4 separate regions of the Homo sapiens genome follow, and regions 2, 3 and 4 are each linked to region 1. The links are contacts of gene promoters, found by promoter capture Hi-C in blood cells and fetal thymus (Javierre and others, 2016). All regions are on one chromosome and are shown on one strand. The core of a region is centred on a gene start or on the middle of the fragment in contact, and the rest is flanking DNA. Distances in the headings are between cores, read along the strand shown.

What was found. Contacts are between HindIII fragments. The CHiCAGO score rates a contact against its expected background, and 5 or more counts as called.
Region 2: a contact is called between a fragment that was not itself captured here and the fragment with the promoter of RAD1 in region 1, in 1 of 17 cell types (activated CD4 T cells). The highest score is 5.4, in activated CD4 T cells.
Region 3: a fragment that was not itself captured here is called in contact with the fragment with the promoter of RAD1 in region 1 in 1 of 17 cell types (activated CD4 T cells); the score reaches 5.2 in activated CD4 T cells.
Region 4: a fragment that was not itself captured here is called in contact with the fragment with the promoter of RAD1 in region 1 in 1 of 17 cell types (total CD8 T cells); the score reaches 5.3 in total CD8 T cells.

What each region holds. Positions count from the first base shown.
Region 1 is chr5:34,913,891-34,917,256 of GRCh38, forward strand. It overlaps RAD1 (RAD1 checkpoint DNA exonuclease), which reads right to left and starts at 1,614. Exons shown (of 6, transcript NM_002853.4): 1 at 1,526-1,614; 2 at 805-1,071. The coding sequence starts at 1,002. BRIX1 (biogenesis of ribosomes BRX1) reads left to right here and starts at 1,821. Exons shown (of 10, transcript NM_018321.4): 1 at 1,821-2,007. The coding sequence starts at 1,849. It also overlaps a transcript of TTC23L not described here. RefSeq lists enhancers at 1,198-1,803, 1,250-1,309, 1,330-2,229, 1,804-2,409. The HindIII fragment of the contact is 14,569 bases long and covers 1-3,366 here.
Region 2 is chr5:35,835,975-35,839,340 of GRCh38, forward strand. No RefSeq gene overlaps it. Among named protein-coding and RNA genes, the nearest start is that of IL7R, 19 kb to the right of the region's middle. The HindIII fragment of the contact is 5,067 bases long and covers 1-3,366 here.
Region 3 is chr5:35,779,661-35,783,026 of GRCh38, forward strand. The region is part of intron 30 of SPEF2 (sperm flagellar 2); the gene reads left to right. Among named protein-coding and RNA genes, the nearest start is that of IL7R, 76 kb to the right of the region's middle. The HindIII fragment of the contact is 2,361 bases long and covers 673-3,033 here.
Region 4 is chr5:35,624,748-35,628,113 of GRCh38, forward strand. All of the region lies in intron 1 of SPEF2 (sperm flagellar 2), which reads left to right. Among named protein-coding and RNA genes, the nearest start is that of SPEF2, 8.6 kb to the left of the region's middle. The HindIII fragment of the contact is 207 bases long and covers 1,420-1,626 here.

The DNA.
Region 1 (3,366 bases), core at 364-2,863:
GATTTTTTATTGATACGGGGGTCTCACTATGATTACCCAGGCTGGTCTTTAATGCCTGAGCTCAAGCGATCTTCGTGCTTCAGCCTCGGTCTCCTGAGCAGCTGGAAATACAGGTGTGAGCCACCATACCATGCCCCTGCATGAGGACAAGAACCGTGTCTTATTTACCTCTCTATCCCTGAGATCATGCTGTGCACTTACGTGTTAAAAAACGCTTAGTTGAACTTGCAATCCTATCTGAACCACACAAATATTACTTTGGAAGAACAAAAATTCTATTACAACCAGTAAAGGAAAAAAATACTCTTTAGTAATAGCATATCGCAGTGGAAAAAAGAGCATATATTCTGGAAACAAATATTCAGCGTTCTTATCCCAATTCAGCCACTTACCAGCTGTGGGACTGTTGGCAAATCACTTAAAATTGTGCCTCGTTTCCACATATATAAAACGGGAATAATAACAGAACCTACCTTACAGGACTATTGTTAAGATTAAATAAGTTAAACAATAAGAAGACTGTAGCCTAGCCAATAGCCTAGTTTAATAAACTTTAGTCATTACTAACCATTATCTCTGTAAAACAAGATGGGAAAAGAATTTGTTACCGGGAGAGAAAAAAAATTCAAGTAATGACGTTTTGTTCTCTAACTTAAGACTATTATTTATTTATTAAGTTATTTATTATGACTATTGACAAGTTATTATGACTATTAAGTTATTTTGTCTACTGAAACCTTCCGATTTCATTAAATTACATTTAGAGTATCTATGGCACAGGCTTAAAGGCGCCTACTTCCATACCTGAATAAAAGCATTTGCTTGCACACACTTTGCATTTTCCACTGTTACTTTGATACCATTTTTAGTTGCGAAACACGTGGCATGTTCTCGGAAATGAATAGCTTTCAAGATAGTGGAGAGATTCCTAACGTTGTCAAGGCTGGCCACAAGGCTGTACTGATCATCCTCGTCTTGGATCTGTTGGGTCAGAAGGGGCATCGTCCACTGCGCATTCGGCCCCGAGGGATGCTCCTGGGGCCAACAACTTCTCGGCGGATCGCCAAACACCTGAAGGGATTAGACAGTAAAACTCCCATCAGTGCTGGCGAGGTCCGGCGAGCTCCACCTGCGCTGAGAGGTGGAAAGGGGCTGGGAGGCTGAACACGGCTGACCAGGCCGAACCCCACCTATGTCACTTAACTATCTTTGTAATTCTGGAGGAAAATTATCTAAGCTACGGTTTCCTCGTCTCCGTAAGAGGACAATAACGTGAAAAGTTGTGAAGAATGAAGACACGCAACTGACACGGTATCTCCCGGCCAAACAGGAGCTACAAATCCGCGGGGAGTCGGTTTTGTGCAGCCCGCGCCACCAGCCCCGCCTCCAACAAAACAGGCGATGGCGGGGCGGGCCCGGAGTGTCCAGATAATCCTCCAAGAGTCCCAGACAACCCCATTCACCAGCCCGCCCGCGGGACAGCATCGCTTACTAGTCTCGGGGTCCCCGAGTGCGGAAACCCTACCTTTGCGGTGGGGTCTGGACGCCCGAGAGCCCTTCTCAGCAAAGTCCCTGAAGAGGAGCGAGGCGGCTCCGAGGAACCGCGGAGGAAGTGAAGCCAGTCCCGCCACTCTTCAGACCGGCCCTCCACCTCGGCCACCGTCACCACAGAGCTGAAGGAGGCCTAGAGAGCCGCGCGTGCCGCGCCACCGAGACCGGAAGGAGGCGGCACAGACCTGGAGGACGACCGCGGAGCTGAGCGCTTAGAGCCGCCGAACCATAGAGATCGGAAATAGGAGCGAGCGGCAGCGCCGGAAAGGAGGCCAAGAGCGCGGGCGGCGAGGCAAGATGGCGGCAACCAAGAGGAAACGGCGTGGAGGCTTTGCAGTTCAGGCGAAGAAGCCAAAAAGAAACGAAATAGATGCGGAGCCGCCAGCTAAGCGGCACGCCACAGCAGAGGAGGTGGAGGAAGAAGAGAGGGACCGGATCCCAGGCCCCGTTTGCAAGGTAGGAGGGGATGTCCCCGGGCTACACCTGCGGCGGCGGCTCTGTGCGCCTTTTCTTGGGTTACTTACTTGACTACAGCCTTGCTTAATTTCAGAGTAGCCCGGGTGTTAACGGTAGGTCGGTTTTAGCAATTCTCCCGGCCAGACTGGGCACGGAGTTTGCAGCTAATCCTTGTGCACGTGGCCGTCTTCCTGGAGGCGGCGGGTTTTAAAACCTTTACCCGGCCCACGGGGAAGCGACTTACAGGGTGCTCAGATCCAGCGTTCTTTCTTACTAGTTGTTCAGTTGTTTTTTTTTTTTAATGTTTTTGGAGAGTAGTGCTTTTCCTTGGTTATTTCTCGCTATTATTTCTCCAGTGATTAGTATGCCCATATACTGCCATAGTCAGCCACTCTCAGTCAGGGATCCTGAAGTACGTTAGGGGAGCCTTTAAAAAGTTGTTGCCCTTGGGACTGTGACTCTGACTTGTTAACCAGGTCATTAACTCAAGAGATACTGAAAAATAGACTAGGTAGTATGAGCTTTACTTGTATTCAACAGACATTGAATGTGCCATGCACTGTACCAAGTTAGGCTTCCTTTGGGTTTGAGATTGCAAAGATGACTAGAATGTGACCTCTTCCTCCTGAAATGTTGGAGTTTAGGAGGAAACTTAAGAATTCAAATAAGTTGATGGTTTTTATTCAAAAGAAGTGCACACAAGTTGTTAGAATTAGCTTTCATTCAACTAAGAACTCTTCTTAAGCTAGACAGAATACTGTGAACAAGGATTATCTTTGACATTAATTTTTGCGTCCTCCGCACTTAGCATAGTACTCTAGCGCGGAGTAGGTGATAAGTAAATGACCCCGTGTGGTGTGATGGCAAGCTCTAAGAAAGAAGTGAGCTCTGTGGAATGAAAGATAAGTGTAAATTCTAGCCCCGTTATTAACAGCAACATTCTGTGCTCTTTTCTGACCTGCAGATTGGGGGGCAGGGGGAGGGAATATTTACTTTTTATGAAAAATAAGCTGGACTTGTACACTTCCAGTAAATGTTAGTGTTCTCACTCTTCCCTTGAGCTAGGTAGTATCTATAATCTGAGCCATACTTCGATACATTCTATGGAAGTGCAGGAGATATAGATTATTTTTACCCTAGTATAATAAGATAAAGAATCATGAAGGATTTAGCCCGTAAGCTGCATATCAGAGGAAGTGTAGAATTTTGACATTCAAAAAATGAGAGGGAACACTCCAAGGGAGAAAAAAAAACCGATGAAAGACTTTGAAGTAGGGAAATGCTGAAAAATGTAAAAAATAGAGCCAGATTGGATTGCATTAGGCTTCATTTGGGGCAATAATGATGTAGACGTGAAAA
Region 2 (3,366 bases), core at 253-2,752, 920 kb after region 1:
CTTTTTTCAGTGTTAATCAGAGAAAGACTGAAAGTGATGCTTTATGACTAAACTTTTGAAGAAATGAGACTATTCAAGTTGTTGAAGTCTTTGGAATCTGTGGTTAGCGTTAAGCAGACACTTCCGACATTCTTTTTTATTATCTTGACTAAATTTTTAAAATTTAAGTATGCCAAGTGATGAAATTTAAAATTTCTGAATAATTTTAACTTTAAATATCATAAAATATGCACTTAGATCTCATATCCTAGTTCATCTGTGAATGCAAAACATAGCAATGAGTTATCATCTTGATTACCAAAAAGGAGAAAAAGTTCTGAGCAACAGTGAATCAAGATCGGTGTGAACACAAAGAGGGGGAAAAACACTACAGCAAAGTACAGGGAAACAGACAGTGAAAAACATCTATTTTTTTTTTTTTGACCAAATGAGAGTCAATTAAAAACTCACAAAATATAAAAAAGAAAGATCAATGTAACTCAGACCACAGTGAAGACTGATTGCTTTACATACTCCATCTGTCAATAAAATGCGTTTTTGAAATGAGTCTGGAGAGTGAGCAGCCTTGCTCCTCTTCCCTGGCCACCCACTCTTGCAGCCTCCTAGGACCGTGTTAATTTGGGACACAGTGCAGGTGCTCTATCCACATAACACCAGACCGGGTGGCTGACCGGGGAAGAGTTCAGTGCATTGTGTGTCTGATCTCCAAAGAAAGACTGGTTTGATAGTTAATATTTTGAATTGACTGACTTTGGTGATTGACTAGAAGAGCCCAGGTTTGCATGAAATCAAATAAAGGGAGCAAAGTAGGAAAATCAACCTTTGATGCTGAGGACAACAAAGAAAGCACATATCATGGATCAACCAGCAATAATAGCCACCGTTTGCTGAATACCTGTTACGTGCCAGGTTCCTGCTAAATGCTTTAAGGCTCATAACTGCCCTTTACAAAGGTATTATTATCTGCATTTTTGAAATGAGAAAACTGAGGCTGAGTGGAGTGGCTTGCACTGAGTGGAGTGGCTTGCACAGCCAGGTTCTTCCTACCACCCTGTAAATGATCTCTGATGTGATTGATAGCTCTCTAATGGTTATTAGCCTTTCCCATGTTGTATTGTGGTTATCTGTTTTAATTGCTTCATCCCCTCGTATCATGAGCAGATAGATATTTAAAATGTTTGCATATCCTTGAAATCTAGTCCCTGTTGTACAGTAAATTTTTTTAAAAAATTGAATACTACAATTTAAGAATTTTGTCTAGTATAAAGGTTTTTAAAAATTGTTTTATTTGTTTATTTCTTGCTATGTATATTCTAACTGTATGCCTGAGCTGGTTATTTAAATTTCCTAAGTTTTAGATACTTCACCTGTAAAATGAGAATAGTACTACAATTTACAAGAGTTGTAGTGACGCATACATAAAACAATAAATACCTGCACAAAGTAAGCAACAACAAAAACTACTGCTGCAGAAACGCTCCTATCAAAGTGGAAATTGATCAGTATACTGAAAATAAGAAGATAAAGAGTAAAATCATTAAAAAATCATAACCTGAACATTTTTACTTAATATGCATTCATTTCTAATATGTTGGTATAAGACTAAATAGTTTTTCTTTTAGTATAGTTCCTTTTACTGGAGATTGATATTGTTTTCCCTGTATTTCATAAGGCCTCATCTAATAATTTATAGTTTAACTTTCTCTTAAGTGGAGTAATATCCTGTTGTGAAGCTGAGTGAACAGTGCATTTACATGTTTACGTTTTTATACTAATCATTAAAAATTCTCTCATACTTAATCTGTTACAATTTTTTTCTTTCCTTTTTTTGAGATGGAGTTTCACTCTTGTCCCTCAGGCTGGAGTGCAGTGGCACGATCTCGGCTCACTGAAACCTCTGCCTCCCAGGTTCAAACTATTCTCCTGCCTCAGCCTCCAGAGTGTCTGAGATTACAGGTGCCCACCACCATGCCCAGCTAGTTTTTGTATTTTTAGTAGAGACGAGGTTTCACCATGTTGACCAGGCCGGTCTTGAACTCCTGACCTCAGGTGATCCACACTCCTCAGCCTCCCAAAGTGCTGGGATGACAGGTGTGAGCCACTGTGCCCGGCCTCAACTTTACTTTTCAAATAATTCTAACATGTCTTATAGAAATGATCATTTTTATTTTATATTGATAGTTCACCAGTTGATCTAGTACTTAACTTACCTGTATAATTATAATAACAATTACATCTGGTGTAAACAAGTTTGCAGACAAACACAATTTGTCTTTGGTAAATAAACAACTCCACTGGTCAGAGCAGTGTGGCTTGGGTGGTCAGCAGGTCTGAAGAGTCAGTTATGGGAAGGTCAGATAAGATAGTTTCTATTATACATGGTTGTTCTTATTGTCTGTTCTCTCTCTTAACATGTAGCACTAATATAGATTTTTACTGCAGATTTTTTGAGAATTTGGAGCAAGGCTGTTATGTGGTACAATACACACAGTAAGATAGCCCAGGACTCTCAGTTCGCACAAAGATCTATGGCATATGTCACTGCCAACTTGTGCAGCATCCCACTCTCCTTAGTCCCTCACTATGTTTCTTCTCTGGTGACTCAAGCTCTTGGCATCTATACCCATATTTTCCCTACATGTGCACATCAGCTATTTCTTTTCTTAAATAAAACAAAGCATGCCAGTTGTCTATCAATACTAAAACTTGGTTTTTAGCCACACAAGTAGACCCATTGCCTATAACCACACCCTTGAAGAGCCAGCCCCCATTCATCCAACCACGCAATGATCTCGTTCAACCCCTCACACCCAAAGAGAATGCCGCAGTGTCTGGTGGGTCAAATATGCTTTCCAAAACACTTGTAGCTTCTATGAAATAGAGTCCAGTTTCAAAGAAGACAGATCTCTATTGCATGGGCACATCTATGAGTATTTGACAATGTGAAGTAAGAGATTTTCAATCTCACTAAAGTCCCATGAACGACATATAATTCTTCAAATCACATCATCTGCTCTATGATTCACCTCTTCCTGTATTGATTCTGTGATTCTACTTATTCATATGAGAATACTAAAGTATGATTATTTTATTAGTAATGCTTTCTTCAATCAGATATTAGAATGGGACTTGACTTGAACAGATGCTGTCAACAAGATATTGCCCTCCTCTATCCTCTCCTCTCCATGAGATTATATATATATATATATATATATATATATATATATATATAGAGAGAGAGAGAGAGAGAGAGAGAGAGAGAGAGAGAGATAGTAGGTTAGAAAGACATGCCATTGAAACAATCAACAAAATTGACAGCAACCATTAACTAGACCACCCATGTAAAAGAGAGAAGACTCAAATTAC
Region 3 (3,366 bases), core at 603-3,102, 870 kb after region 1:
CTTTGTGCATACTTCTAGTTTAGATTTTATATTGAGATTATGAGTTTGTGTTTCTGTGAGGGGAGACCAGGCAGTAGAAGATTTCCCTTTTATGTTGGCCTTTTCCCTCAGTGCTTGTAGACCATAAGCAGAATCAAATAAGCTGTTAGAAAATGTTTGCTTAATTAATTAGTCGGTTTGTTCATATGTATGTGTAAATGTTTTCTGCACACAACAATTTTATCTCTTTCACATTTTATCAGCATGGACCTACAGCATCTGCACAGGCTTTTTTTATTCAGCCTTTTCCTACTTCCAGATATTCTTCAATGAGTTCTGTCGATTGATAGCACAAGTAATTCAGACAGATCACATAGGATTATCATCTCCACTTTAAAGGTCTAGATACTGACTCACAGAGGAGTTTAGCAGATTTTTTGCCTATGGTCATATATCATTCAGAACTCTGCAGATCCAAAGTTCTTGCCCCTTCTCACTGAACTAAGTTGCCTCTCATAAGCAGATTTCTTTTACTTTTCAACATATACTACTTATTGGGAAATTATTACTTTTCCCTGTAGCATAGTCAACTGACTTTAGTATTAATACAATGTTACTTTTTAAAAAAGTCCAGTATTTCCAGAAATTCACATCATATATCATTAGTAAAAAGAGCATTACTCTAAGTCCGAAAGCTTCCTTGCCAAGCCCAATAGGTGAAATTGGTGTATGTGTGTGTGCCTGGGTGAACCTTGCGCTTTGATGTGTCAGCTCATCAAATCAGCTAGAGCAGGCTTTACAGCTCCAAGGTATAAAAGCCCACACTTCAGCTGTGGAGGGACGGAGGTGCCATTTGGCAGCATTTGGGCACGAAGGAAACATGGCCATCAGCAGGTACAAAAAATCTCGACTTTACAAATCAGTCCATGAAATTCCTTCAGTCCTTTAGTCAGACAGAGTGCACCCTCTTCTACATGGTGCGAGCTCCACAATGCCCTGTTATTATGTACTTCCCTCTTCAGAGTTGCTTTTTCTCTTCATTTTATCCAGGCCATTATTTTACACATAAAATAAAAAGATAAGTGTAAGTGGATTCTAAACATGACATGTGGTTTGCTTTAATCCTACACTCTGGTGACTGGGAGGAAATCACTCAATTAATAGGTAAAAACTAAAGGCATCTGGGGACACTTGAATAGGTAGAAGTGGATTTTGAAAATTATCATCCACTTACAATATATCTTTCAGCAGGGACCCTAGTATCCATGATGCTAATCATAATACTTTCTTGGATCCAACCTCAAATCCAGAGCTCATATTTCCACTAAAAATTTAAAAATAAATTTTAAAAAATAGCAGCTATAACTTGACATGTGTCTCAGAAGATTAACTCTAGAAACCCTTGGGACACAAAGATGTCAACAGATAAATGTTTTCAGACTATGGGAGAAATAAGAAGGGAGGGAGAGGAAGTAAAGGAAGGGAGGGAGGGAGAAACGGAGTTGTTTTTTTTTTAATTTTTATTTTTTTAAAAGCAGAGTAAAAGGAAACCATTTGCCCTAGGAGCTGAGAGTTTAATTTGAAAAGGCAAGCAAAGAGGAAGGAAATATGAACAACTATTTGAGTTCTTTCTGGGACACAGTATGAATGTTATTCAAGTGCTCAAGAATGCAAAGCATCAGTGTGCCCTGAAATTGGTCAGGGAAAAGTCTGTGGAGCAAAACTTTGGAGGGAGAAATTGAAGAGGGTAAAGAGATTTTGTGGCAAGGCTACAGAGAATGTTTACAGTTAGGGGAACAGCTGCTGGAAACTCTGTAGACAAGAAGCGTGAGGATAGGAGCATGATGTTTGGGAAATGTTTAGGAGACTGCTCTGCTTTTCTTTCTCCAACTGCATGAACTCCAGGCGAGTAGAAGAGGAGGCTTTCTCTGTGTGAGGAACCACCTCCTCCCACCCAAGCTGGAGAATTAACCCATATGCAAGAATAACAGTTGTAATTACCACAGAATTTACAAGGCTATACAATACGGTAGGATTTGGGGATTGTGATGATTCAAAGTGAGTTATGTATGGTCTATGGGCAAACAGTTTAAACTCTTTTCTCTATTAGCTCAATTATACCATTTGAAAAAATATATATTGCATATATTGCTTTTTAGGTATATCTAAAATAATTAATAAGTGTTGGGAATTTGATTGACAGGAGTAACGTTCATTGTTATTATTCTTGCTATTCTTATAGAGGGCAGGGAAAAGTATTACTCCATTTTTCTGCATCCCAGAGTCACAGAATTGGAGGTTCTCTACTGATACTCTTGAAATCAGGCTCCAAACATTGACAATGGCCCTGCCTGAGGAAACCCATTAACTGCCACTCACCCCTTTTCCCCATCTCTTCTGGCCCCACAAAGTATACTCTGGCTTTTTTGTTTTTCTACCCCGGTTTGGCAATTGTTCACTTAAGAAACATGACACACACCCATCCGTCTTTTAAATGAAGGCTTTTGTTGTATTTCTTCCAAGAAATGGAAAACAATCCTTTATGATACCTTCCACTGTATTTACCCTAGAACTCTATAATTTCAAAACACAATCTTAGTGAGTGATAGCAGGTTTGAAAGTGTGGAGGAGCTGGCTGAACATGTGTGTTTCAAATGTGTGATCCTGCAGAACTTCCTGCTCAAACTTGCTATTATTTCTATGCCAAGAAATAAAAACATTTTCCTATATTATTTCATATATGCCCATGCAATCCATAATATCTAAGATGCAACTTTCAAGTTCACTAAAATATATTAAAACAGATGGATTTTTTTGGGAGGGAAGCATACATATTTATTTGCATATAACAGCCATTATGTTACTAGGCCCATGGTAGGATTTTTTAGCAGATTTATAAAAAGCACTGATGTTACTAAATTACACTTTGCATGTTTTAATCATGCCACACAAATACAAGTATTGGATTATTATTTAATCTTTGATTAGAACAATGACTGAATGCTTTAAATACTTGCAACTAGATAGTATCAAGATGTAAATGGAAAGAACTAAAGCTTAAGGGGTTTTCTGCTAAGTATTGGTTAATCCCTTTGAAAACAAAAGTCTCCATTAAAATAGCCCTTACTAAAGATAACATAAAATTGAAAAGCATCATATATTGTAACATATTCAACACTCCTTTTCTGGTCAAATTCTGCCACTTATGATGATTCTACCTCTCTTTTGGTAAAGGTAATGATTAGACATAAAATATTATTTATTGATTATTATTAACACAAATATACCAGAAAAAATAATGACCTTATACATGATAATCAAATTAGATCATGCAAAATGCAATGAAACAGTTGATTACACTTGCATTTTTCCTGCCACTTAACAAAG
Region 4 (3,366 bases), core at 273-2,772, 710 kb after region 1:
TGCCTCAGCATCCCGAGTAGCTGGGGCTACAGGCATGTGCCACCATGCCCGGCTACTTTTTGTATTTTTAGTAGAGACAGGGTTTCATCATATTGGCTAGGCTGGTCTCGAACTCCTGACCTCGTGATCTGCCTGCCTCAGCCTCCCAAAGTGCTGAGATTACAGGCGTGAGCCACGGCATCCAGCCCTGTCTTCTTATTTTATACGTTTTAGTGTATCAGTCCTAGTGTATACACTTTTTCTTCAGCTTTTTCTTTCTTTGTCTAATTTCCTATATGTATTCTTTTTTCTTTTTCTTTTAATTTTTTTCTCCAAGTTTCCCCTTTATTGCTTTTATCATTTGCTGTATTCGTCACTCACTGTTCTAGTTTCTGCTGATGTGGTACATGGTAAATCTGAAGTGTCTTATGCATAAAAAGCTTCAGACAGATATTTTGATACTTACAGATTTTTTATAAACTACTCTGACAATGAAGTACATTAAGTGTTTACTATTGTTCTTTAACCTTTATACTATAAACACCTCTATTTTATCCATATCATAATTGCCTTATTAATATGCCATGCCATTTCAAAGGAAATGGGTAATGATTTTATTTTTCTGGTGACCTTTTTGTAGAAAATGGTTTGTTACAGACCGTTTGTCAGCCACACTGAAGATGAAGGAAACGGATTTAGTATTCCCCAGTTATTCCTGGGCTAGACTTTCAGCATTCAGTCAACGTGAACAACAGGCACAGTGCAAACCCCAGAGGGAGGCAGGAAGGGAAAGAGATTACCTGAAGGTAACATAGCAACAGCTCTTGAACAGAAAGCAATAAGCCAAAAATTGGGACAAGACCCTGATGGCGTAGGAATAGAAAGACACAGATACATCCATAGATGAATAATGGTTCTATGTCCAGTGGCTCTTTAGAAAACTAAGGGAAGAATAGGGATAGGCTAGGGAGGAGAGAAGGGAAGAGGCAGACAGAAGAAAGCAACAGACAGAAGAGGTGAAAGACACAGCTAGAGCACCCTGGGTGGCACATTGAGGGTCATGGTGGCAACGAGAGCTTTGGGGTCTGTAAGGGAAGGAGAAAGCTGCAGTGACACAGGAGGAGGTGGCACACTTTTGCCCATTGGAGCAGAAGGAACCCTTTGGATTTCAGTTGCTTTAAAGACTACTGAGGTATGAAGCCGGAAGACACTTGCTGAATGACAGATGACATTTAGTATAAGATCAAGCCAATCTTCATTTTAGTAGCATCGAAAGGCATTATGATATTCAAATGGTGTTGCGTTAAAGTCGGAAAAAATCAGTGCCTAGGTTATGAAGCTCAAGCTTAACTTGTGCTGTAAGGTGTTCCAGGCGGTACAATAGATCTAGCTGAGTTATAGAGCTCAGGTATGCCATGAATTTCAAATTCTCCTGCTGGAAGCTTTAGGACATACTCTTCTCTAAGTATATTTTCTCAAGAGTTGCTTCAGTGTTTCACATTAAGACATAGCTTCGGAAGGACAGATATGACTGATAGGAAGGGCATCAAACCATCAACTCTGAAAGAATGTATCATGGGTTTAGAGTGAGATCATTCTGCCCTGAATAGTTTTAAAATGATGATAAAACTGGTCTGTTTGTGGAAAAGCTTACTAAAATCCACTAATAGGTGCCAGACTGTGGACTTTAAGAATAGATGCAATGTGTCTGTTCTCACATGAACTATAGCTGAACACAAGGTTATGTGATTGGAAGCTTTCATTTTCCTAGGGCTTATAAAAGTTTCATTTCTTTACTTGTTGCTAAAGTGATCCATAGACAAAAAAAGCATTGCTTCCCCTTAATGTTTTTTACCTTTTATTTTTTCTATTGCATATAAAAATTATGTAACCATAATTAATAGATTCTAATTCTAGACAGTTCAAGAGCTCACCCTGAGTACATAGAATCAGTGGGAACCATTGACATCTTTTTAACTACCTTTATTATTGTATTGACTCAACTTAAGGATTGAGGTATTACTCTGAGTATAAAGGGTTTTGAGAACAGATATTAAGAAAGTCTTAGAGAAAACTGTGTTCTGGTATCAGACATGCAAAAAGTATTATGATAGGGTGTAATCTTTGGAGTGAGGACTGCACAGTGGCTGTTATGGAGCAACTTAGCTCAACTTCCTACAACCACACAACCAAGCATCGCTTCTACAAATCATGAAGAAATGTTATTTCTTCACTGTCAATTAGCCACCTCATTATTAGTCAGACAGGTAAAATAGAACAATCTGGCAAAACTGAATTTGTGATACTGCAATGACATATAATATTTTAACCGATGTTAAAATATTATATTTAATATAATATGTTATATTATATGTTAACCTGATGGAAGCAGGTTGAATATCTGTGGAGGATTTTGAAGTAATTTGAGAGATGATAGCTTTGGCCTATGATAATATAATTTATTTTGTATATAATCCTTAAATATCATGTAAGTCTATATATTTTACTTTATAAGAAAAATACAAGTAACTCAAAACTAAGAACATTTTTTAAAAAAGCAAATCCTATTGAACACTTAAAAATTTTTTTTCTCGGCTGGGCACGGTGGCTCATGCCTGTAATCCCAGCACTTTGGGAGGCCGAGTCAGGTGGATCATGAAGTCAAAAGATCGAGACCAACCTGGGCAACATGGTGAAACCCCCCTCTCTACTAAAAATACAAAAATTTGCTGGGTGTGGTGGCACACACCTGTAATCCCAGCTACTCGGGAGGCTGAGGCAGGAGAATCGCTTGAACCCAGGAGTCAGAGGTTGTAGATCAGGCCACTGCACTCAGAGGTTGTAGATTAGGCCACAGCCTAGGCGACACAGTGAGACTCCATCAAAAAATAAAATAAAATTCTGCACTTATCATTATGTGCCTACTATGTGGCAGGCATGGCACCCAGCAATTCTCAAACACTGCTGCAAAAGAGAGCTATTAATATTAAATAGCTCTCTGATATAAGATATAGATATGGTTATCTTTGTTCTAGACATGAGGCTGAAACTCAGGAAGATGAAGCAGCTTGCCCAACGTCACACAGCTAGTAAGGGGCAGAGCCAAGATTCCAGCACAGGTATCTCTGGCTCTAAAGTCAGTTTTCCCCTGGGCTATCTCTCAGTAATTGCATAGGACAATAACTGGGCCATAGTGTCCCCTCTGAACCATGAAGGAGAAGTTCGATTATGTTCAGGAGGTTTTATTTAAGAAGGTGCAAATGGCTTTAGTAAACTTTCCATTGTTTTGCAGGTTAAAATGAGGTATTTGTTTAAAAGAAGTTAGCTTTCATCTCACTTGGCCAAAATATGCTGTCATCATAGGTTGTGTGAGTAACTAAAGTATTA